Regions from separate parts of the Homo sapiens genome. Here all the other regions are linked to region 1. Evidence: promoter capture Hi-C in 16 types of primary human blood cells and fetal thymus (Javierre and others, 2016). All regions are on one chromosome and are shown on one strand. Each heading gives the region's core, a stretch centred on a gene start or on the middle of the fragment in contact. The rest is flanking DNA. Distances are from core to core; before and after follow the strand shown. Region 1 holds the start of NRIP1 (nuclear receptor interacting protein 1). Region 2 overlaps ASMER1 (adipocyte associated metabolic related lncRNA 1). Region 3 overlaps LOC105369292 (a long non-coding RNA gene). Region 4 overlaps ASMER1 (adipocyte associated metabolic related lncRNA 1).

The links. Contacts are between HindIII fragments. The CHiCAGO score rates a contact against its expected background, and 5 or more counts as called.
Region 2: a contact is called between a fragment that was not itself captured here and the fragment with the promoter of NRIP1 in region 1, in 4 of 17 cell types (megakaryocytes, M0 macrophages, M1 macrophages and 1 more). The highest score is 8.9, in megakaryocytes.
Region 3: a fragment that was not itself captured here is called in contact with the fragment with the promoter of NRIP1 in region 1 in 1 of 17 cell types (megakaryocytes); the score reaches 5.9 in megakaryocytes.
Region 4: a fragment that was not itself captured here is called in contact with the fragment with the promoter of NRIP1 in region 1 in 1 of 17 cell types (endothelial precursors); the score reaches 6.0 in endothelial precursors.

The regions. Positions count from the first base shown.
Region 1 is chr21:15,063,693-15,067,025 of GRCh38, forward strand. It overlaps NRIP1 (nuclear receptor interacting protein 1), which reads right to left and starts at 1,308. Exons shown (of 4, transcript NM_003489.4): 1 at 1,053-1,308. RefSeq lists silencers at 540-1,399, 1,650-1,829 and an enhancer at 2,160-2,209. The HindIII fragment of the contact is 10,218 bases long and covers 1-3,333 here.
Region 2 is chr21:14,861,533-14,864,567 of GRCh38, forward strand. The region is part of intron 1 of ASMER1 (adipocyte associated metabolic related lncRNA 1); the gene reads right to left. Among named protein-coding and RNA genes, the nearest start is that of ASMER1, 56 kb to the right of the region's middle. The HindIII fragment of the contact is 3,251 bases long and covers 1-3,035 here.
Region 3 is chr21:15,276,066-15,279,205 of GRCh38, forward strand. The region is part of intron 2 of LOC105369292 (a long non-coding RNA gene); the gene reads right to left. Among named protein-coding and RNA genes, the nearest start is that of LINC02920, 210 kb to the left of the region's middle. The HindIII fragment of the contact is 1,125 bases long and covers 708-1,832 here.
Region 4 is chr21:14,877,831-14,881,218 of GRCh38, forward strand. All of the region lies in intron 1 of ASMER1 (adipocyte associated metabolic related lncRNA 1), which reads right to left. Among named protein-coding and RNA genes, the nearest start is that of ASMER1, 39 kb to the right of the region's middle. RefSeq lists enhancers at 220-289, 1,698-1,992. The HindIII fragment of the contact is 2,858 bases long and covers 1-2,827 here.

The DNA of each region.
Region 1 (3,333 bases), core at 58-2,557:
AAACAAACTCCAACTCAGTTCCACCAACTGGGTTTTTAAAAATCCTTGTGCCTAAGAACGTCTTTTTTCCCCAAAGTAAAATGTGCCATTAAAAAATATTTTTAAAACGCAAAAGTGCTTATCATTCCGTACTTCTTTTACTACCTTCAGCAGCCAATTATTGACGTGATAAAAGGTAGAAACTCCTGGAATGCTTCAGAGATCAACATGTGTCACAGACTCCCAGCCTGTCCGCCTCTAAGACACAGTTGGTTCCTTTGTTCCTTCTGACTGAACACCAACTCCTGATCAAAATTGGGAAACTACTTTGGAAGGGATGGGAGGGTCTGCAGAATACATCCACGGAAACCTTCATAAAACAATATTCAATCGTAATAAGGTGGACACAGAAGAAGGGAGAAAAGGCAGCCTCCCGGACTTCCACCGGGCTCACCCTAAATGGGGGCCGGCCCCTGGCTCCTGGTAAAATGATGGCTGAGGCCTCGGGTCCGTGAGCCTCGCCATCGGGAGGGGACCGCGAGTGCGGGCAGAGCGGCCCGGGGTCGGGTGGGGGCCGGGCGAGCTGTCCCTTTTCCTATTCACTTTCCCAGCCGGGTATCCAGCGAGCAAGGAGCAGGGAGGCACCCAGGCGAAAGGCGCCGCCCAGGATCCGGCTGGACAGCAGGACGGAGAGCGGCGAGGCGAGCGGTGCCCGGGGTTCGGGACCGAGAGGGCAAGCGAGCGGGGGCAACCCCGACCCGGCCCCCCGAGTCCGGCCCCGCTCAGGGGCCACGCGACGGCCGCCCCCTTGCCCAGAACTGGCACGGACGGGCGGGCCGACCCGGGGCCACTCCACAACTTGCCGGCCCGCCGCCCCGGCCCCCCGCGAGAACCCGGAGACTCGAACCAGGCAGCAGAGGCAGGATTTCCCCGGAAACGCGCCCTCCCCGCCGCCCCGACGCCCCCGCGGCCCTGCCAGCCAAGCGAGAGCCGACGCGGGCCGCGCTCCCGGGCCGTTTCCGGCGGCGCCGGCGGCCGCTACTCCTGGCGCCCTGGCCGCGGCCGTCACTCACCCCAGGCCGCCGCGGCTCCCAGCCTCCGGCTCCGTCAGGCTCGGTCCGCGAAGGCGCCTGCCGCCCCGTCCTGGCCCGGCGCCCCGGCGAGCTCTTCCCTCCGACCAGCGGCGCTCACGGCGCAGCGGCGGACGCGAGGCCACGGGCGGACGGGCGCGCGCGGGTGGCGGGCGGGCGTGGGGCCGGGTCGTCCCTGCGCCTCGCCGCCGCCTCCTCCGCCGCCGCCTCCCGAGTTCGGGGCTCTGCTGCAATGTCTGCGAGGCTGACTTTGAGCGCCTCGCTCACCGCCCGCCCGCAGCCGCGCTCCTCCCTCCGCCGCCGAGTCCGCCGCGGCCCAGTCCCTCCCCTCGCCGCCCCACGCCATTCAGCTCTTCAGCCAAGTTTCTTAACCCTTTTCTCCCCCTCCCTCCCATTGTCACCCGGTCAGGAGGAAGCCGCGCGGATCCGGGCGGCTCACAGGAGCTGCGGAACCCCCTCTGTTTCGTGGATTTCCTTCTCGCCTGCTCTCCGGGTGTCCCAGACGGGGCTGCAAGACCCGGAGGCAGCGAGAGGACCGCGTCCCCGAGAGAGGGGCTGCACGGCGCGCCCGGGCCGTCCCCCGGGCTCCCAGCTCTGTCCAGCCGCCCGCGACCGCTGCAGGCGCCTGGACAGCTCCTCCTGGGGACCGGGGAAAGCGCTCTTGGGACCCAGGCCGAATGCTCCCGTTTGGGCACAGCCTGGGGGCCGGGGCGCCCCAGACGCTCCAGGGTCCCCGCCTGCCTTAAGCGTCTACCTCCTCCCCTTCACCCCACAACACGCGCTCTCTGGGCCCCCTTTCACCCACCCACCCCCAATTTCTATCTCCTTGTAATCTGTGTGTCCTGCTTTAATGTTGGGGGGCACGGGCGCGAACTCTGGGTCACTTTGACCCCACGCCCAGCACGTAGTAGGCGCCCAGCACTCGTGTGGAGCGACTCTGGGAGGAAAACTAGGAAGGAGACCTGAGGAGCGCCCCGCTCAGCTCCCTGGACAGACGTAGGACCCAGGAGCAGGGTTAATCCTCGGCTGCTTTGTCACTGCGAAGTCTCCAGCGGAGTCTGTCAGCCAATCTGCATCATCCCCGGGAAGGATCTGACCCAACAAGACAAGGGAAAAGGAGCAGGGCTGCTACTTCTTCAGCAGCTCTCCTCGGTTCGGTCTCCGAATAAGAAATAACAATTACATCACGAGGCCGGGGCGGCAGCGCGGTGGAGCCTCTCGGTTTCCTGCAGCCTAATCTCACTGAACCCGCCTCTAAATTGGGGGGGCCACAGATTGGTGAAACGAGAAAGTGGAAGGAGGAGAGAGTCATACGAAACCATAATTTCCCCTTATCCTTGTATTTGCTGTTTGAAAAATCGTATCCTCAACGCTCCCCAGACATCTCACTAGAACTATTAACACCCCCTCAACACCTCCCCAGATGTCAGGTTTCTTTTTGACTTGAGCATCTAGCATTTAGTAATTCGCCATGAAAAAAATTACCAGGGGAAGCGAGTGTTGTTGCTGAAATTGTTTTTGCTTGACACAAAAAAGCTAAAGTACAGCTTAGTCTCACCCGAAATTCTGAAACGGCATGCCCGTGTTAAAACACTTATTACATAAGACAAATGAGCCGATGAGGCACTCCATTCTTATATGTAGGTTTTCATATCCTGAAGAATTTGATAGCATTTGGAAATGAAGTTGCTAATGCGCTTAAAAAACAAAAACTATCCAAGTCATGAAACTGTATTCTGTGCCTGTTATGTAATGGCTGTATTGTGTATTGCAAATTTCACTTAACCTTTAAACAATATGAATGAGAGTTTTAGAATACTGTCACAGTCTTGAAAGTGAAAGCAATTTTTCAAATTAATGCTTAATAAATTCAGCACCCAGCACAGTGCCGGGCACATAGTGCCAATGTTTTCCTTAGTGGCAATGGCACATTTTAAAACAATTATTTTTCATCACCCTAGTGATTGAACTATGCAATCTGTTGCCATTTTATATAGTTAAACCTCATATAATATAATACCATATTATTTGCATATACCACAATTCAAAATCTGCTCTAGGCAAAATAAAGTCTGCTGTTTTTTAGTGCATCATTTATTCAGAATTGATACAAAGCAAACCGTTTCAATTCAATGATGACCAGCATAATTGGAGCTTGGCCCTTAGTGGGGGGTCAAACTTTTTTTATGAAAATTATTTTTAACCATTATACAGATTTTTCTACAATGTATTGCAAATGTTTCTCTTAAGCAGTTTGTTGAAC
Region 2 (3,035 bases), core at 358-2,857, 200 kb before region 1:
TTCAACAAGTCTCTAGGAAGTTCCAAACTTTCCCACATTTTCCTGTCTTCTTCTGAGCCCTCCAAACTGTTTCAACCTCTGCCTGTTACCCAGTTCCAAAGTTGCTTCCACATTTTTGGGTATCTTCTCAGCAGTACCCCACTCTCAGTACCAATTTACTGTATTAGTCCATTTTCACACTGCTGATAAAGACATACCCAAGACTGGTAAGAAAAGGAGGTTTAATTGAATTTACAACTCCATGTGGCCGGGGAGGCCTCAGAATCATGGCAGGAGGTGAAATGCACTTCTTACATGGCAGCAGCAAGAGAAAATGAGGAAGAAGCAAAAGTGGAAACCCCTGATAAACCCATCAGATCTCGTGAGGCTTATTCACTATCATGGATAGCACGGGAAAGACCAGCTCCCATGATTCAATTACCGTCCCCTGGGTCCCTCCCACAACATGTGGGAATTCTGGGAGATACAATTCAAGTTGAGATTTGAATGGGGACACAGCCAAACCATATCAATGTTAAAACAAAATCCTAACATAATTTTTTGTCTTACATATTGAACTTGGAATTCCTGGCTTTTTATTTACTTGGAACTTCAAAAATTGTTATAGATATACCACTTTTTTTTTTCTGTCAGGACCTAATTCTTATTTTAAAAAGTTACATGATGTCAGTTTCAATTTCTCTTGAGATTTCACTTGGATAACACAGACTATCACAATTTTGCCTCTAATTCACTCTCTGGTGAATTGCTCTGCTCTATCATTAAGGTTTTGAGCCTACCTTTATAAAATGGGCACAAAAAGGAAGTAAAAATTATGGTTCTTACATTCACTTCTTATGCATGTAAGAAAGGATAGAAAGATAATTTGGAGCTATATTACAAAATGAGTCAGAATCTGCCTACTAGTTCTGGAGGTCTTTCACAAACTCTCAAATTCTTGGGAAAACACAGCACTCTTTTAAAATGTCATGTTACATGGCCATTCACTGCCTATTATACTACTACACTCAAGCCCATGATTTCAGAAAGTCCCTCTCAAAAGGAGGTTCAGAGTGCAACTAGATTTTTATAACTACCATTTAAATCATCAATATAGAATATGCTTCTTTGCTCTTAATTTACTTTTCATTTCTATTTGGTGGGGAGTTCATCATTAAAATCCTCCCTGGAAGGTTTGCAAAGATAGAACTTTGGTTGAGGATGGAGGCAGAGGCAGCACTGGCCAATCCAGACTGCAGGGATCACTTTACAGGTCTTGAGAAAAAATAGTGGTAGGAAGGGAAGTAAGCAGGAGAGAGGAATTAACTAAAGAGAAGTAAAACGTGTCTTGTTTAAACTAGTGGAAGCAATGAAAATTTAGCAGCCATTGTTTGTCTCTTTATTCCTTATTTATAAAACTAAAGAGTAAACTATATTTTTAGGTTAGGTTTTAATTTATGGGAAAGGGAAAGAAACCTAAAAGAAGCCCCCTGCTGGCCACTCTAATTTCTGCCCTATTTGCTCCTTAAAAAAAATAAAAATAAAAATATCCTTACCTTTCCTATATTTTCCTACATTTAAGACATAATTTAACCTTTTATTGTTAACTGAGATTTATCATTGTTATAAATGCAATATACAAATATAAATCTCTAAAGGCATTTCAGTAATTTGTCTTTTATGACAAGAAGAAAATCATCCTTTGAAAGATATGTATCTTGTTTTAAATTTGCATTTAAAAGTCTATCACTAGTAGATTAGTTTTGTTATTTTGCTCTTAATCTGAGCACAAAATAAGTTTGTTTTGATTATCTCAAACTCTGGGAGGTCTTTAAAATTAAATAACAAATCCGAGTTTTATTCAAAATTATTTACAACAGTCTTTTGTCTTATTCTAGAAAATTAAGGGGACTACACATAGCAAAAATCCCGAGGCTGTGTTTGTTTCACGCTGTTACTTGAATCTATGATGAAATCATTTCCTAGGCTTATTCTTTAGAAAATAAAACTCCTTAGGGCAGACTGACCCGAGTTGCACAGGAATGTAAATAAAAATGATTATTTCTCTCTTTACATAAGACAAATATTTTACTACATTGTGTACTATAATAATCTTTCTCATGGCCAACACAGAAATATTAGCATCTACCAAATATGGTTAAATCCTCAAAGCCTACTTATAAAGCAAAAGCAGCACTGGAAATTGACATCACTTACATTTAGTCACATTTTCAAAAGAGCATGATTAATGAAACAGAAGTGTTCTCATGGAGCGTGTGCACCATGTGCTAGTGACAGTTATATCAGAACGAACTACATGTAGCATTTATCTTCCTTTTGCTCTGGTATCTCCCGAGTGAAACGCTTGGGTGTGTATGAAAAGCATAGGGAGAATGACAACTCATTTGGTATTGACTTGGCCTTTGTCCCAGCTCTCTCTTACATCATCAACCCCTTCCTCATCTCTGCTGTCACTGACTTTGAGAAAGCACATGGTTCAGCCATTTGACATCCTCTCTGTAAGACCAGGGATGAGTCTGCTATGCGTAGCTCTGTTTATTAAAACCTCAATTTTAAGAAGGTTACCATTCTACATAAAACCCTTGACCTCTCAGAGTTAGTGGTATGAGCCTAAAAGTTGCCAGGACATGCTAAACTTTTCCTGAGAAAGAGTCCAGTCAACAATTTTATGACAATCCTTCTGACCTGAGCTTTGCTTAATACCATCAAATAAGTCACAGGACAGTCAGGAGATTGGAAATGTATCACTTGATGAGGTTTTTCAGATTGATAACACGAGGGTAAGCAACTGTGTCATCCAGGAGGCTCCAAAGTCCAGGGTCCATTCAGGGCCAACTACAGCAGTGCCCCTTCCTAAGTCCAGGCCATTCACACCAACCGAAGCCCAGCAGGGGGCAGCTTCCCAAAGCTAAATCTAAAAAGACCATAGCCAGCCCAGCTGAAAGTCCCAGGAAAAGGCAATGTTGCCTAACAGTCATGAGACAGCTGGAAAAGTCCCTGCACCTGACACACACTGTTACAGACAGTGCTGCCTC
Region 3 (3,140 bases), core at 20-2,519, 210 kb after region 1:
TCTTGGGATCATCAGCTCAAAGGGAAAAAAAGGGGAAATATTCACCCATTGGCATCTGTCTCTCAATGGCCAAAAATTGTCCCAGGGGGCATTAATTTACTCTGCAATTTCTATCAGTCTTCTCTTTGTGTGAGAGGCGTCCTAGCACAGGATCGAGGGGTTCTTATCCAATGCCTGAGGGGAGGTATTGTCAGATTGCCTTTATAGAAAACTGATCAGAGTTCATGGCTGGAATAACAAACGATGTTTGAGTAAGTGTATGATATGCAAATTTCCCTTCAGGTGGAGGGCTTGATGTTTTGGACTCAGTTACTAATAGGTTAGGTGCCAGCTGTCACAGCTCAGCTCCTGGAGACCTAGTGAGCCCATGGGAGATTGCAACATCTTCTCCTGGGAGCCACCCATCCTGTGGGAATTTGGTTTTGAAATGCAGCTGGAGTAAATGCGGGATTCCAAGATAGCTTGTCCATCACCAGGCAATGAAGGAAGGGCACTGAGGCTCACCTTTGGACTTCCTGGTTGACATCCCATGGTCAGGTCTGGATATTCAGTGTGTAAATTCATTCTAATGATATTAATTTTAAGAATGTTTTACAATTTTTTTCTAATTAAGTATTTTATGCACATATTAGGAAAAAAAATTGATTTGGTAAACCTAATAAATTTGCATCGAACCTAATATTTTATGTTCATGAATTGTAAAGGAAAGCTTAGAGGGAAGATTCTCTGTGTCTTGCTTTTCAGAGAGAGACACAGGTATGGGTCAAAGGGCGCTTAGAACCTTCCCATCCTTAATACATTATGGAAAATATTGACTGCTCTTCATCTTTGATATCATAAATTAGAGTATTATGTTCATAATGACTATTTTCTATTTAAGGAGGTTTTTTGTGAAAAACATTATCTTTTTCTGAATAATAACTCCTTCAATGCTATCTATCTTCTCCCTCAACTGTGCCTTTGCAGCTGAATAACTGATTCACCATACTACTGAACAACTTTTTGATGACTTGAATTTATTTATTTATTTTTTAAAAGCCAATACATTCATTTGCCATTCTTGTACTTCCTGTCCTGCTTAAAGCACTTTTTGCTATTTTTTTGTGATGTAAAATCAGTCCAGTTTATCTCCATTCAAGACATCTTTATTGAAAATGACTTGTCTCCAGGCTTATTTTGGTTTCCCTTTCCAATCCTTATGGACAACTGGTTAGCTAATTGAGTCACTCCCAAGCCCCACTTCTGTTAATCAGTATATGTAATAAGTTGATGGAGTGTAAACATTTATTTAATAAAGAGAATGTCACATCGGTTGAATGTCACTTACAGAAGTTACAAAAAGGAGCCATCCATTTATTCTTTCAACAGATATTTGTTGAAGCATAAGATGCATAGCATGCTATTCTCTGTGTTATGGGATATTTTAGGATGTAAAAGACCTGGCTCACAAAAACATGCAAGCTAATGTTACTAACTTCATTTTGTCAAGCAATTTGGTATGGGAAATAACCAGTGGGAAAGCAAGTGGGGAAAGAAAAATAAGTAGAAAGACTCTGAACATATGTTCAACACAGCAGGAGACAGTGTTATAGACCTGGGATCCAACTTGTAAAAAGAAAGTGTGTAGTGGCTTGCATTTTGAAAAGAACCCCATATGGGGAAATATACTTTGTGGCAAAGACACAACAGGGAGACCTAGATGAGATCATGAGTATTTTCTCTGTGGAACCACAGAGAAGAATTTAGGGTTAGGAAGCCCATTAGCAGATGACATGCCCAGGAGCAACACTTAGCCACTGCCTGGGCATTCGTAGTGGCTTGTGTGTGTAGGAAGCTTATAAAGCTCTGAAGATTCCACTCATTTGCCTTTGCATTTAGCATCTTCTGTGCAGAAAATTAGTTATGCTGCAGCCTTAAAATGTTAGTTATCTAACATTTTAGAAAACTAGCTACCTATTAGGTTATAGTAATTGTATAAAAACATAAAATTAACCACTAGCTAGAATCATTTTTAGGATTTCTTCACTTTTAATTAAATCTAACATCAATGTTATAAAACCCAAAAGAATACAAAAAGATTTATTTTGCTAGTAAAATGAATTTTCAAATGCTTTCAAGTCCCTTGGGGACTAAAGTTCAATAATAATTAAAGTCTTTTCATACCGCATGTGGGAAAGGGCCAAACACCATGTTGAGATTTCGTGAGTCTTCTGTACCAGCAAAGAGAGGCAGTAGAAGAAAGAAACACTTCCCTGCTCTGCATTAAGAGAACTATTAGGCTGCCATTCATAGTGCAATTTTTTGCAGTCCTACAGAAACACATTTCTAGGTCTTTAGACAGTTGAGTTCCAAAAGGGTTTTGCAAGAATCAAATCACATGTGAGCTGAGTCAAAAATCAGGAGGTCGCTTTGTAGGTGAAGAATGTGGCAAACATAAGATCGGAATGAAAGCAAAATTGAGAGTCGGCAGTGCAGGCTTTTGGAGGCGAAAGCCCAAAAGACAGGCCAAGAAATGCTTTCGATGTTGGACCTTGGGGATAAAATGATGATTTGTCAAATTACTAACTAGGTGAAAAAAACAAAAGGACATTCTCCAGCCAGGATCATGGGACCAGAGGTGTTGCCAGGTCAAATGACATTACCGGGTGACTTATTGCTCTTGGTTTTTTCTTGATGCACTTCATTTAAGTTAACATTTTCATTCTCTGTGTTGTATTTTACGTATAGTGGTTTTCTCTACCTGAAGATTTTTGGAGTATTTACTCAATGACTTGTTTATAATTTGTTTCCTCCTCTTTCAAGGTGAGTTGGCTAAGAACAAGGACGTTTTCCTAGTCACCCACTGTCTCCAAGCTTGTGAACAGTTACTGATAGCACTCAACTGTTTTTTTATTTAAAAAAAAAATAAGGATGAGGTCTCAGTATGTTGCCTCAGGCTGGTCTTGAAATCCTGAGCTCAAGTGATCCTTCCTCCTCGGCCTCCCAAAGTGCTAAGATTACAGACATGAGCCACCATGCCTGGCGGCACTCAACTGTTAAATGAATGAATAAGTGAAATGAACATTTTTCAATAACAACCTCAGCACACCATCACTGCTGCGTAGTGTGCACCAATGAGTGGTAATGTAAGATTTTATTGT
Region 4 (3,388 bases), core at 149-2,648, 190 kb before region 1:
TACTTTACTTGGGAGGTTAAAAGTTCAAAGTTGAGTCACAGTCTGAGGTGGCTCTGCTCTTCCTTTTTAATTATCTGAGGTCAGGAAGTTAATAATACGAGAAATCCCCAGCGGAGACCTCTTGTGCACTGTGTGAACTTTAAACTTGCTCATTTTTTTCTTAAGGGTAAAAAGTTCAGCAGAAACACAGTGGACTTTTCCTCTTAGCCTCCACCCATTCATCCCCCAAGGTCAAAAGTTGAACTGTAAAACAGAAACCCTTGTTCTCTGATCCACATTTAAACAGATCACTTATTAAAAGGTAAACATTCCACATGCAAGCCAAAGTTCCAAGTGAATCTGCTCAATAAAAATAAAAAAACTGTAATAAAGTCTTTGATCTTTTCCACTTGTCTTAGAATTGAACAACAGAATTTATTTTCTCGTTTTTTGAATCTCAGAGAAGGGGCAGTCATATAAGCTCTTTCCTCACCTACCTCTGCCCTGAGATTGGCATATCTAAAAGAGATAAACCTAAGATATTTTAAAATAGTCAGATTTGGAGCCTTACCTTAAGGCAATTTCTTCAACTAATTCTACGCCATTTATGTTTGTTTATTTGTTTTGCTCAAACAGGAATTCAAGAACAGCAAATGTGATTTAAATCAGAGATATAAAGTACTACAGAATAAAAAGGAGTTTGCTGAAAATGGTAGAGGATGCTGTATTAGTCCGTTTTGCTGCTGATAAAGACATATCTGAGACTGGGCAATTTACAAAAGAAAGAGGTTTAGTGGACTTACAGTTCCACTTGGCTGGGGAAGCCTCACAATCATGGTGGAAGGTGATAGGCATGTCTCATATGGATGGCACAGGCAAAAAAAAAAAAATGCTTGGGCAGGGAAACTTCCTCTTATAAAACCATCGGATCTCGTGAGACTTATTTACTATCATGAGAACAGCATGGGAAAGACCTCCCACCAGGTCCCCCCGACCCACCACAACACGTGGGAATTTAATATGAGATTTGGGTGGGGACAAAACCAAACCATATCAGATGCAGAGAAAATAAAGAAATGGATGAATATATCCAATGAACCTCATATGAATAATGAATGGAAAATATCTGAGATCTTCACAGTGTTAAAGCTCAAACAAGAAGTGAAATAAATAGCTACAGAGCTCCAAATAAGTATTTAATGATAGTGACAAGACTCACTTTCTTGAAGTAATGATGGCAAACTTTAAAAGTATGGAAAAGCCATTGACCGAATACTAACCCAATCCAATCAGCATGCTTAGGAAAACTCCCTGAGATGATCACATGAAGCTGTTATTTCATGCAACCCATGTGTCCGTTTTTTTCAATGTGTACTTATTGGAAATGCTTTCACTTGTTTAAACAAGTCCTACCTGTGACTCAATATTTGTTTAAAAACTTTTTAAGAAAGCATCTTTGTCACCGTTTATCTATCTAAATGCGAATAATACCACTTGCTTCCCACCTTAATAATTTTTGTAAAGATTCTCATTAGAGAATACTTAAGCACAGAAAACGGTAAGAGCCTTGAAATTAAGATATACAATGAACACGTTTATAATAAATACTTTTCACTGATGTCAGTTTCGACAGTGTCATTTAAGTTTAAACGACTTTGTGATCACTTCTAACACAAATCAAAACTAGAAGATATGGCTCTAAGTAAGTTGTGTTCTAGATCCATTTACACTGTGAGTAACATTCACGACACCCTCTGGGACTCCTGGATGCAGCTGGTGACCCAGACCCAGGAATGACACAGCCAGGAAGGAAGTGAGGAAGGTGCACAGAGCTACTTCCTCTTGTTAGAACTCCCCTCTCAACAGCTGTAAGGAAGAATGGAAATTCCCTATGAATCAAAGTGTGACTTCGAAGTATGGGATACAATTTGAGAGACCTGATCATATTGATTAGGATGTTGACCAAAAGGAAGTCACTGCATTTCATTTGGACACTACTCAGACATTTAAGCTGGTATGACATTCATGAGAAACTTCTGGTTTCAATTCATCTTTTTCCCATGAATATTTATGTTCCTTTTTTTTAATCTTTAAGTCAGTTCATGATATTCAAGCTAGTTATTTCCAACCTTCTGTCTGACTGAATTCTGTATTAAATCTTTCTTTGTTTCCCCCCTGCAAAACAGGTTAATTCATGAGAGGCTATTATATAGCAAGGACCATGCTGCCATGCTGTCTGTGTTCTGGGCATATGTACCCTCAAAGTCCTCATAGGATAGAAATAGTACTAAATCTGTATACAATGAACTGGACACAACAATGTGGGGACTATACTACAAATACTATGAACAAAGTGCCGGGAGAACCCTGAGTCTTTGCCATGTTCTTTGATGCCTTTGTGCCTTACACATTCTGATCCCGCCACCTAAAATAATCCTCTTGTCCTTCATCCCTGGGACCCTGTACTCTGCCTCAGTGCTTCTCTTCCTACACACTTCACCTCCCCTTGCCTCTCTGAATGTAAGTGTCTCTTCCACAGCAATCTGTGCAAAGACTAACACCAGAGTAACTATCTTACAGTATTGTAACACTTAGCTAATTTTTCTGCCTCCAACAATAAATTCTGATCTATTTGAGGAAGTGAACTCCAATACCATTCTCAAGGAAGTCCTTTTTTAGAAATATAGACTGAAACCTGACAGAAAAGGGATTCAGTGTATATCCTAAAGGATGGCATAGGAGAGCTGAGACTTAGCAGGGTATACACTAGAGTGGTCTCATGCTCTTCTTGCCAGCACACCACTAGGTTAGCAGTTCTCAACTTTGGCTGTAGTTGGTATAACCTGGAAGCTTTAAGATATTTTTGATGTCTAGGTCTCAGTTCTAGAAATTTTGAATTCACTGGAATGGAGTAGATTTGGGTCATTAAGGTTTTTAACTGTTCCCAGGTGATACTGGGGATGATGAGAACTTAAGGATGAGAATCAATGCACAGCAAGACACTGTGAAATGGGAATAGATGTTAGAAGCCACCATTGGCACTAGGGGTCACAAATGGATTGCCAATTTAAGAATACCTTATTTTTCATAATTCTCTTAAGGAATAAGTTTTCTTCCACCTGAACTGTTTCAGCAGTTCTATTATCCTCATGATAATATGAGCTTTCTTAGCATATTACACCAACGTCTCTGTAAAATCAACCAATCTTTTTCTTTATCTTCATTAATATCTTGTGTGCTGAATCATGTAAAACTGCTTCCTATTGCCTAAGTGTGTCATGCAAACCTTTCCCCATACCATCCTATATATCTGCTTCCAGGAATGCCTTTCCTCTTAATCCCCCAGGAATTCATACTCACACTTTAAGACCTGGAGCCAGACATAGTAGCTCATGCCTATAATGGCACT